Regions from separate parts of the Homo sapiens genome. Here region 1 is linked to region 2. Evidence: promoter capture Hi-C in 16 types of primary human blood cells and fetal thymus (Javierre and others, 2016). All regions are on one chromosome and are shown on one strand. The core of a region is centred on a gene start or on the middle of the fragment in contact, and the rest is flanking DNA. Distances in the headings are between cores, read along the strand shown.

What was found. Contacts are between HindIII fragments. The CHiCAGO score rates a contact against its expected background, and 5 or more counts as called.
Region 1: a contact is called between a fragment that was not itself captured here and the fragment with the promoter of IFTAP in region 2, in 2 of 17 cell types (fetal thymus and monocytes). The highest score is 8.6, in fetal thymus.

What each region holds. Positions count from the first base shown.
Region 1 is chr11:36,291,114-36,298,367 of GRCh38, reverse strand. PRR5L (proline rich 5 like) reads right to left here and starts at 2,080. Exons shown (of 9, transcript NM_001160167.2): 1 at 1,930-2,080. The HindIII fragment of the contact is 2,854 bases long and covers 4,153-7,006 here.
Region 2 is chr11:36,593,252-36,597,836 of GRCh38, reverse strand. IFTAP (intraflagellar transport associated protein) reads right to left here and starts at 3,335. Exons shown (of 6, transcript NM_138787.4): 1 at 3,245-3,335. RAG2 (recombination activating 2) reads left to right here. Exons shown (of 2, transcript NM_000536.4): 2 at 3,642-4,585. The coding sequence starts at 3,669. RefSeq lists an enhancer at 3,289-3,428. The HindIII fragment of the contact is 5,310 bases long and covers 2,473-4,585 here.

The DNA.
Region 1 (7,254 bases), core at 4,330-6,829, 300 kb after region 2:
ATTGTGTAATTATTTCATTATATATTACAATGTAATAATAATATAAATAAGGTTCTCAATAAATGTAATGCACTTGAATCATCCTGAAACCATCCCTACCCTGGTCTGTGGAAAAAAGTGTCATCTACAAAACTGGTCTCTGGTACCAAAAAAATTGGGGACTGCTGGTTTAAGCCCCTCAGTCTGTGATATTTTGTCATGGCAGTCCCAGCAAACTAATACGGCACTGCTTAGATGCCAGGGAACTAAGGAAGGAGTCTTATTAGGCAACCAGCTTCAAGGGACCAGCAACTCAGAGATCCCCAAAGATGAGAAATAATGGTGCTCTCTGAAGTATCCACAAGATTGTGCCTAGAGAGAAAGAACTAGGTTTACACACCCACCAGAACCTGCCACTGAAATGCCAGCTTGCCACAGCATTAACCAAGTACGGACTTCCAGCTCCTTTCCTGCCTCTTCTCTTTTCCCCTTCCCCCTGCCAGGAGTCAGAATCATCAGTAAGCCAGAGGAGAGAAGGATGGAAGCTTAACGTGGGAAATGAGAAGCCAACCACAGACCCCCTTTCCAAGCTGCAGGCCCCACTGGAGGAGGGAGAAAAGTCTCCACTGGGAACCAAATTCAAAGATCTGGCTGATTCCCTGGGACTGGACATCCCAATTGCTGAATGAGGCTGTGCTGGAACTAAAAGCGACTTAAGAACTTTTGATTCCTGAAGGGGGCCCATAAGAGTTGTGGACCTACCTTAATTTTCATCCCAGGGCAAGGGAAGAGGGAGGACCTGCTGAAAAAAATTAGGGACAATGATAGGCAAAAATAAAGTTTGCTTCCATAATATACCATGAGTCCTGTGTATTTGACGTATGTTCTCTTACATATGAGGCAACTTAGCCTGGTCTCTGGCCAAAAAAGAGATACCACTCATTGAGCAATTCTTACCCTTTCAAATTCCTTCACTGTCGTCATTGAGCAATTCCATCTTCTTCAAGCAAGACAAAAGCTGATGCCAATAGAAAAATCATTTAAAATAAACAAACGAAAAAATTCCTTAAGCTGTCAACTTGGGTGCAGATGTTCTATGAAGCCAGAAACTGAATGTCACCCTCTATACACCATGACCTAGAGAAGCAGAATAACTCCAGACCAGCAGGGCTGGGCGGGTCTAAGATTCCCATACTACTTAAGAGAAAACTGAATTCAAATCCAGGCTCTGCCATTTAACAACTGTGTGACCCCGGGTGAATGACTTAAATTATCCGTACTTCAATTTCCTCATCCATAAAATAGAGATCATAAAGTATCTATCTGATGAAATAGCTGCAAAACAGTTAGAATGCTGCCTGGCACAGGGCAAAGGACTCACAATACACATAGCTATCATCATATATCATTGCCTCTCAAAGTGAAATATTGTGATGACCTTGGTTTATTAGCAGGATGTTGTAAAAAAAAATGCTTTACAAGGGGCATGATGACGAAAAGCGCAGATTCTAGAACCCGACTCCCTGGGTTTGAAAGAAGCAAGAATCTGAGGCATGTTGTATAAGGGTTTGCTATCATTACTATTCATTCAATGAGAGACATACAGTAATAGGTATACATATGCAATACATAGAGAAAGAGCTTAGTACTAGCAGCTATTATTAAGGCAACAGCCACCTCAGTAAATCTACATGGGCCATGAAGACCCTGGTCACCCAGAGATATCAGAGGCACTGAACAGGGCCAGACAGACAGAGGGTATTTTTCTAACTGGGAGGCTGCTGAACTTGACCTCTGTTGCTTTTCATTATTTATTTAACAGCAGATGGTGGCTTTCAAGAAAATCGGATGTCTTGAAGCCAGAAACCCATCCTCCTTGGGCTGGATACTCAGCCATCCCCTGCAACCCCACCCCCTAGCCCCAAGCTCTCATTGTCTCTCTTGTGTTACCTGGTCTGGTTTCTTCTTCCAGGGCAGGTCCCACCTTGCTGGGGAGAGGTGAATGACCATGGCCTTCCAGCCTCCCGAGAAGGGGATGTTCCAACGGGCGCAGAGATCTCTGGGCCTGGCTTGCCACTCACTGACCTGGGGCCTGAAGACTGACAGAGAAGCAGGCAGAAAATATAAAAAGCTGATACCCCCTGCAGGAAATCATTGTTTAGCCCATTCCAGACTAAAAAAACAAGTGCAACATTGGAGAAAGGAGGGTAAAGTGTCATTCGGGGCCATTGTTACAGCGGCTGCTCTGTGTGGTGGGGAAACAAAGCAGGCCTGTGTATGTGAGGACAATGCTGTTGTGTTACTAGCTGCTTCTGTGTTACTCCTGGGGACAGGAGGATGAGAAACGAGGCCACAGTGTCTTCCCTGGTGGACTTCACTCATCATAGTAGCCAGGCCAATCAGAGCTGGGAGAGGAATTTTGGACATTTAGCCCATGGCATTATGTAATAAGGGTCAGGGGACGTGCCTTCAGGTGTGACCACCTGCCTCTTTGTTAGTCTTCTATACATGAGAGATCACAAATGTCCCTCTCCTTTTCTCTTACTTGCTTTCAGAAACTTACCCCAAGTTAGAGCTGAAAAGAATGAGACATATCATTTCTCTAAACACAAATGTCATCCACTTCAATGCCTAACTTTTGTGATGGGACATCTGGCTGGGACTAAACCTCAGCCATGCAGCACGTTAGCAGCAGTTGGCAAGACTAGATGAATATTATAAAGCTTGCACCCACTGAACCCCCATAATGAACCAGACACTAGGTCATGAGCAACCTTGCAAAATGACCTCATTCGCTCCTGACTTCAAATTCTGACTCTGCAACTATTACCCATGGACTGTGAGCAAGTGTTTTCTCTGGGTGTTAGTTTTCCCATCTGTAAACCGGGATTATGATTGGGTTCCTAGGAGGATTAAATGAATTAATATATGCAAAACTCTTAGAACAGTGGCTGGCCCATAAAAGTGATCAAGAACCACAAATCACAAATTAGATGCCCACATTACACCTGAAACTTGCTTGTACTCATGAGGAGATGGTATGGGGATGGCTGGAAAGCCAGGATCCCAAGTGTCTGTATTTAGCCCTGTTACCTACTATGGCCTAAGTTCACCCTGTTAGGTCCCTGAAGGAATTGGGCACTAATAAATATTCTCAAGTATGAGACAGGTGACAAATGTGTGGAGAGGGCCCACTGTGATGCAACAGTGTGTGGCGGGAACTGTGGGGATTTGAAAGCTCACACCAGTCTTCAGAGGGCAGCCAGGGCTCAGCCTCAGCCAAATACTGCAATGCAGAAAGGTGGAAACAGCATGGTTGGGCCTGCACATTTTTAAAGAAAAGCCAGAAGGCTGGATTTTTTATGTCGAGTTTTCCAATTTTGAAACACTGTGGACCAAACACAACATTGTTAATGCAATGTGAGCCCTAGATCATGCAGTTTGTGATGCCTGATCTGGAAATTTCCAGATTTCCAGCATTTCCAAGCCAGTGCAACCCTGCTGACACTCAGAGCTTTTGTCCCCAACTTGCGCTACGGTCTGAGTGTATGCGTCCCCCACAAATTCATATGCTGAAATCTTCACCCCCAGGTGATGGTATTTGGAGGTGGGACCTATGGGGGGTGATTAGGTCATGAGTGTGGAGCCCTCATGAATGGGATTAGTGCCCTTATAAAGAGGCCCAAGAGAGCTCCCTTGCCCACAGCCACCATTTGAGGACACAGTGAGAAGACACCATCTGTGAACCAGGAAACCGTCCTCATCAAACATAGAATCTGCCAATGCCTTGGTCTTGGACTTCCCAGCCTCCAGAACTATGAGCAACACATTTCTGTTGTTGATAAAGCCACCCAGTTTATGGTATTTTGTTATATTAGCCCATATGGACTAAGACGACTGGTGAGCTGATCAGGCCACGTCAAAGCCACAAAGGGGGCATAAAGTCAAAAAGATTGATCAGCCCTTTCCCCCTGCAACCCACCCTCATCTCTGGACTGAGACAAAGGTGAGGAAAAGGGAAACTAGGGGAATAACAGGAGGGTGGCAAGGGCTCTCCTTAAAGGACTGCAGGACCCTGGGCCTAATCCACCTCCTGCAGGCATTCCTCTGACAAAGAAGGCAGCCAGGACTTAGTAGTGAAACCAAAGGGGAGAATAGGAGTTTATTTAAGCTTCCATAACCTTCATCAGTTACCTCAAATGAACCAAAGTAGCGTAAGTGACAAAATGTGTTTGCTATGCAAATGCACCTTAAAAACAAGACTGCTCACAATGAGATACCACTTCATACCCGCTAAGATTGCTATAATCAAAAAGACAGAACCAGTTACAAAATGTGTTTGATATACCAATGCAACTTCAAAACAAGACGGCTCACAATGAGATACTACTTCATACCCACTAGGATCACTATAATCAAAAAGGCAGAGCCAGATGCAGTGGCTCCCATCTGTAATCCCAGCTACTCAGAAGGCTGAGGCAGGAGGATCGTTTGAGGCCAGGAGTTTGAGACCAGCCTGAGCAACATAGCAAACATATGTTTTAGAGACAAAACATATTTTTTGTCTCTAAAACAAATAAAATCAAATTAGCTGGGTATGGTTGTGCATGCTTGTAGTCCCAGCTACTCAGGAGGCTGAAGTGGGAAGATCAGTTGAGCCCAGGAGTTTGAGGCTACAGTGAGCCATGATTACACCACTGTACTCCAGCCTGGGTAAAAGAGCAGAGACCCCCATCTCTCTGTCTCTTTTTTTTTTTAAACAAATGTTGGTGCAGATGTGGAGAAATTGAAACCCTTATACATTGCTTCTGGGGACTGTAAAATGGTGCAGTCACTTTGGAAAATGGTCTTACACTTCCTCAAAAGGTTAAACACAGAGTAATCATATGGCCCAGAAACTCCACTATTCCACTCTTCAGTGTATACTCCAAGAGAAATGAAACACATGTTCACACAAAAACTTTGTACATGATTGCTCATGGCAGCATTACTCACAACAGCTAAAAAGTAGAAACAACTCAAATGTCTACAACTGATGAATGAACAAACTATGGTATATCTGTACAAAAAAATATTATTCAGCAAAAAACGAATGAAGTACCGATACAGGCTATAACATGAACGAACCTTGAAGAAGTTTCTCCTCTTATGCTAAGTAGAGGAAACGAGTACAAAACATATGATATGTGGTCTTTTGTACTCGTTTCCTTTACTTAGTATAAGAGGAGAAACCGTATCATATGATCCAATTCATGGGAAATGTCCAGAAGGCAAAACCATAGAGACAGAAAGCAGATTAGCGATTGCCTAGGGCTGGGTGTGATGGGGAGAATTGGGGGCAGAGGTGGGTGTTGATAGCTAAAGGATATGCTGTTTCTTTTGGGGATGATGAACATGTTCTAAAATTAATTGTGGTGATAGTTGGACAACTCTGTGAGTATACTAAAATTCATCGAATTTTACACTTCAAATGGATAAATTGTATGGTATGTGAATGTTAATTCTATTTCAATAAAGCTACTATAAAAAAACCCTCAATACTAAGATTGCTGCCCTTAATCATTTTCTACTAATAAATTCTGTGTCCATATCCCTTGCTTCATATCTGCCCCACTGGAGAAATCAGGGCAAGTGTTCCAAAAGGCTGGTTTCCCCCAAGGCTCAGGGCTCAAACTTGGGTGACTAACTGGCCTGGTTTGTCCAGAACTGTCCCAGCGCTAGCCCTGAAAGTCCTGCATCCAAGGAAACCCCTCATCCCTGGGAAAACTGGGATGGCCAGTCCCCCTCGTGCAAACCCTTGCCCACAACAGGGGAAAGCTCTGCCCTTTAGCGTTGCCAATGACTAGAACTGAGAATCCACATAAGCAATCCTTCCCCTTTTGGGGTATAAGTCATCCTTGAGCTCCCCCTAATGGCCAAAAGGTATTTTTATTATTGTTCCCATTTTACGGATGATGAAATTGAGGTTCCAAGAGGGGAAGTAATTTGCTAACAGTACACAGGAGTTGGAAACTGAACCTAGGTCTTTTCCCAAAGCCCAAGGTAGCCCTTCCACTCACTCATTATATTGTTTCTCACCATCACCAGACTGATTGTACAGGAACACTCTTAGATTGTTCTTGCTGCCTGAGGAAGGTAGTCAGACATGCAAAGAGAAGAAACACAAATTTACAGCTGTGGGACAACAAGGAGACATGTACAGCTTGGCGGTTAACAGTGCAGAATCTGGAGCCAGACTGGCCATATTTGAATCTGGGCTTTGCCACTACTTAGCTGTGTGACCTCAGACTACTTAATCTGCCTATGTCTGTTTCTCCATATGTAAAATGGAAACAATACAGTGTGTGTGCTTATATATGTATATGTACTTATGTGTGTGTGTACATATGTGTGTGTATGTATATACATACGTATATATATAATATCATAGGATAGGAATGGGAAGTAAATTAATCAGTAAATGTAAGGGCTTAGAACAGAGCCGGGCACATAACAAGTTTATTAAATAAATGAAAGTCAGCACTGATTCCTATATTCAGAATTGGAAAGAAATTAGGTTTGGCCTAATGAAAACCAGGCAATGGGACCAAATCACAGAAATGAACTCCGACATTCTGTTTTGTTCCCACCCATGAAAATGTTTATGGTTTAGAAATTGCTGGACATTCTGCAGACCACAGACAAACCTTTACATGCAACATGGCATTGGCAATCTGGGCAGCCCTACCAAAATGGGATGACATGGTGCCATTCATATCATACCAGCCCGCGAGAGTAAGGAGAGCTGGGAATCCTCCCACTGAAGCAGCTCCTGTCGCTCAGCTCTGCTCTCTGAACTAGATGGGTGTGATGAACACCATTTTACAGAGGTGGAAACTGAGGCCCAGAGAAGTTCAAGAATTTGTACACGGAAAAGTTAATAATGTGTAGAATTAGGATTCCAACTCAGGTTGAATTCTAAAACCCCTATGCTTTGCTGCCACCATGCATTAGTTACTATTGCTGTATAACAAATTACTTCAAAGCTTCATAGCTTAAAACAACAAACATTGATAATCTTAATAGTGTTTGAAGGCCAGAAATCCAGGCGTGGCTTCGCTGGGTGGTGCTGGCTCAGAATCTCTCATGAGGTTGCAGTTAAGCTGTTGGCCAAGACTCCTGCCTTCTTAAGGCTCTACTGGGCCTAGACAATCTGCTTCTCAGGTCAGTAATGAAGTTGTTGGCCAGATGCTTCAGTTCCTTGTCACCTAGGCCTCTCTGTAGGACTGTTTACAA
Region 2 (4,585 bases), core at 2,086-4,585:
CTAATCCTGGTTTTACTGCCAGCAGAAATAAAATAATATATGCCTCAAACCTGATTAACAGTGCAAGATACTGTTATTCACACATTAAATGCCTGAAGTTACTTACATGAGGTTACTTGCTACTCTGGAGCAATCAAGAAAACATGGCCAGCACGGATCAGCAAGATTTAATGTTTCACAGTACAGTATCTTTCTTTGGAAAAGAAAAAGTCAGTTCAGATATTAGGAACTATAAACCCAGACCTCATACTATGAGTCCTTTCATTATACTCAACTATGCCCTAGCATCAGAGAGAATAAATGAAAATCTCCCTGCTGAAGAATGTTAGCATGGGGTTGGGAAAATTGTATATATTTATTGGTCCTATATTTCTGTCCTTTACAAAGAATCTTTAATGTGTTGACCTTGAAGCCTCCCTCAGCTGAAGAACAGGATCTTATTCTTTTAAATCTGCCTGTTTTTATGTAGCCTATTAAAAGGAAAAGACTTCAGTAGGTTATTTTAGATATAGTATAATCATTTAAAAACTCTTTTTAAAAACCAAGGTGTGACTAATACAGTCATATTGAAACTATGGAAGAGATACAATGGTCTACTCCAGTGAAAAATATATTCAAGTTGATAAAGCAAAATTTCAAAAACCAAATGTGGCAAAATCATGTGAAAACACTTTCAATGTTCCTGTTTATTCTTTAAATGCATACATCATCTGGTTAAAGTGAGTAATCTAAAAATTAATTACTCACACTTGAACCATGTTACAAGAGGAGGTAATTCATCTTAGCAATAAGAAACTTTACCACTGTTTTTAGGGCCTTGAAATTATGAAATGAGCCAAAAGCAGAGCATCAAAGGGAAAACAGGTCAAAAGCCCTGTTTCAAAAATCTTTAGGGGCCTAGACTAAGCTACAAAAATGGACAATCCTCCTTATGTCTTGCCCAAGAAAATGTTTCTGTGTAATCTACAATAATCATGTTTTCACTTACGAGAAGCCACAATTCCTACAGCAACCTTAAAATGAAACCAAGAGGCGACAATAAAAACATTGCTTTAAAACAACTGTTCTTGAAAAATCCCTTTGGATCTGGAATCCATTACCACTGTATGGCTTGCCTTGTATCTCAATAACAGTCATCACAGGTGTTTGAAACAAGCAGGCCTTGGCTTTGGTGTTCCCCCCACCCAAAATGGGACAACTCTCTGATCATAATCACTCAGGCTGAGTGTAATCACCTACAGTTTTCTGAAGTGAGGGTCAATAATGTCTCCTTTTAGTTTCTATGAATAGCATTTTTCATAGTTGCTCAGATGCCTTCCCTCATGTAGGCTTGGGTAGGCCATGATATAAATAAAACACTGCCTAGATTATTTTATAAGCAGGGCAGTTTGCTGAATATACAACTGAGGGAGACAGGCTTGTTTTCATAACTTTGATAATAATCCTTCTGAGACACCATTTCCTCACCTGCTTTAATAACCCACCAGATAATTGTTGAAAGATCACCCCCTTACGAGTCTCCCAAGTAGACTGAAAATAATAACTACAAGAGATTATTTAGCAGTAAATTACAGCTGATCTACAGAAGTTCTTTAAAGCAAAAAAAAAAAAAAACAAAAAAAAAACACTACCATCTCATTAGAGTGACCAGAGATTCTAAATAGTCCAAGGAATCTTTGCAGGAGGAATAAAGATAAATTAGATAAATTATAGTATCAATTAACATTTATTGAGTGTTTATGTGCCAGGCACTGTTCTATGTGATTTACACGTGCTATCCCATTTATTTCTCAAAACAGCCCAGTGAATATATACCAAGATTATCCCCAGTTAGACAAAGGGTGACAAGAAGAATAAAATATTAACTATCTTCTGTTAATAAATTAACTACTACCAGCACCCTCATCATATATGTTTATCCAATTCTTTTAGTTCAAATGTTTATCTGTCTATACCCACTGACCTGATTCCCATATCCTAAAGCCCCTTCTCATCCTCTCCAACCTTATCAACTGCCATTACTGGCAGGTGCGTATGCACTAGACCTTATTTTTGGTAAATTTTAAAATAATCATAACTATCGTCTACTATATGCAAATCCCTGTTCTAAGTACTTTACGTATATTCAACTATTAATCATAACTGACATCAATATATGAGGTTGGTAAAATTATTATCTCAGTTTTCAGATGAGGAAACTGAGGCACACAGAGGTTACATAACTTGCCCAAAGTCATGTAGTTAGTGGCAGAGCCAGGATTTGAATCCAGCCAGTAAGCATTCAGAGTCCACACTCAGCCATTGTTTATACTGCTTTTGAAGCATATTAAGAATTAACTCTTAAAAGTCAAGAAATCTGTGCTATGTTTTGTTTCCTTTAACATTTGGTGCACAGGACATCACACTGCAAACACGGAGTGTATTCCACAACTCTCTAAGGTAAACAATAATAAAATAGAAATTTATCAAGCTTCCTTCATCTAGTAAATATTCTTTTTGTTGTAACACAAGTATGAAATTCTGAATAATTCAAACACTTCTATGCTTAGTCCCTGCTTACTTACTACAGAATTATTAAAGAATTACCCAAAAGTTCTTGGACTGGAAAGATGTGAAAAAGCCACTAACTCTATTTTCCTAGAATGAAGATGAAAAGAAGATGTGTTTAGGAACCTTCTCTGCTTCCCTAAAAGAACCCTAAAAACAGGAGTAAAAACAGTGAAGAAAACAAAGGACCTTCAAAGTGCACTCGTTAAAACCTAATAACTGTATTTCTATTACTAAATGTAGAAGTGGTAAACATCTTTAACAGGCAATGTCTCCCCTGCACTCTAGGGATTCAAAGATCCATCTTTCGGTTCTGTAAGACAGTCACGGCTTTTGTAACCTCGGTGCCCCCTTCAACCTCCCGCCCCAAGCACCTCCAGGGTCGTCAGGGGTGTAGTTTTGAGTCGCGCTCCTAAGCATCCAGACAGGCAGGACACCGTAACGACATCTCTGCCGGGAGTCCCTTCAGACTGCGGTCTCCAGGTAACCGCACTCCAACAGAAGCAGTTGTGCTTCCTATCGGGTCACCTGTTCAAAAGTCCCCAGGAGAGGCTCCAGCAATACCAGGGTAGCGGTTTGCCCGACACCGCTCCGGGCGCTGCAGCCTTCCGGCAACCCGGACGTTGGGTCGGTGTCAGCCACTCTCACCTCCCATTCCCTAGTTTTCCTCCTTTGCTCCCGTCTAGTCACTTCGCACCTTCGGCTAGTCTTTATTCACAGACACATTCCAGGAGTCCCCTCTCCCAGAGCAACAAAGACAGATTTCCAAAGCTACACATCCCAGAGAGAACGGATTCTTGGGAAATGTGGTTCTTTCAGCTGACGCATGGTGACTCTTTACGGAAAAGGACTACAATTCCCAGAAATCCTAGGGAGCATATAGTCCGTGGCTAAAACATGTCCCAGCTCCTTGGATGGAATGGCAGTAAAGGTTCTGTGGCTCTTTACTGACCTAACTCCTTGGATTTTCCTCATTCAGTCCCACTGCAAGCGTGTGGGAGGACTTAAAAAAATGCTATTCACATGTGAAGGAATCTAAATACGATGATTATATGAAGCGATCTCTAAGTCATTTTATTTTATAATTCTTTCAGACAAAAATCTACGTACCATCAGAAACTATGTCTCTGCAGATGGTAACAGTCAGTAATAACATAGCCTTAATTCAGCCAGGCTTCTCACTGATGAATTTTGATGGACAAGTTTTCTTCTTTGGACAAAAAGGCTGGCCCAAAAGATCCTGCCCCACTGGAGTTTTCCATCTGGATGTAAAGCATAACCATGTCAAACTGAAGCCTACAATTTTCTCTAAGGATTCCTGCTACCTCCCTCCTCTTCGCTACCCAGCCACTTGCACATTCAAAGGCAGCTTGGAGTCTGAAAAGCATCAATACATCATCCATGGAGGGAAAACACCAAACAATGAGGTTTCAGATAAGATTTATGTCATGTCTATTGTTTGCAAGAACAACAAAAAGGTTACTTTTCGCTGCACAGAGAAAGACTTGGTAGGAGATGTTCCTGAAGCCAGATATGGTCATTCCATTAATGTGGTGTACAGCCGAGGGAAAAGTATGGGTGTTCTCTTTGGAGGACGCTCATACATGCCTTCTACCCACAGAACCACAGAAAAATGGAATAGTGTAGCTGACTGCCTGCCCTGTGTTTTCCTGGTGGATTTTGAATTTGGGTGTGCTACATCATACATTCTTCCAGAACTTCAGGATGGGCTATCTTTTCATGTCTCTATTGCCAAAAATGACACCATCTATATTTTAGGAGGACATTCACTTGCCAATAATATCCGGCCTGCCAACCTGTACAGAATAAGGGTTGATCTTCCCCTGGGTAGCCCAGCTGTGAATTGCACAGTCTTGCCAGGAGGAATCTCTGTCTCCAGTGCAATCCTGACTCAAACTAACAATGATGAATTTGTTATTGTTGGTGGCTATCAGCTTGAAAATCAAAAAAGAATGATCTGCAACATCATCTCTTTAGAGGACAACAAGATAGAAATTCGTGAGATGGAGACCCCAGA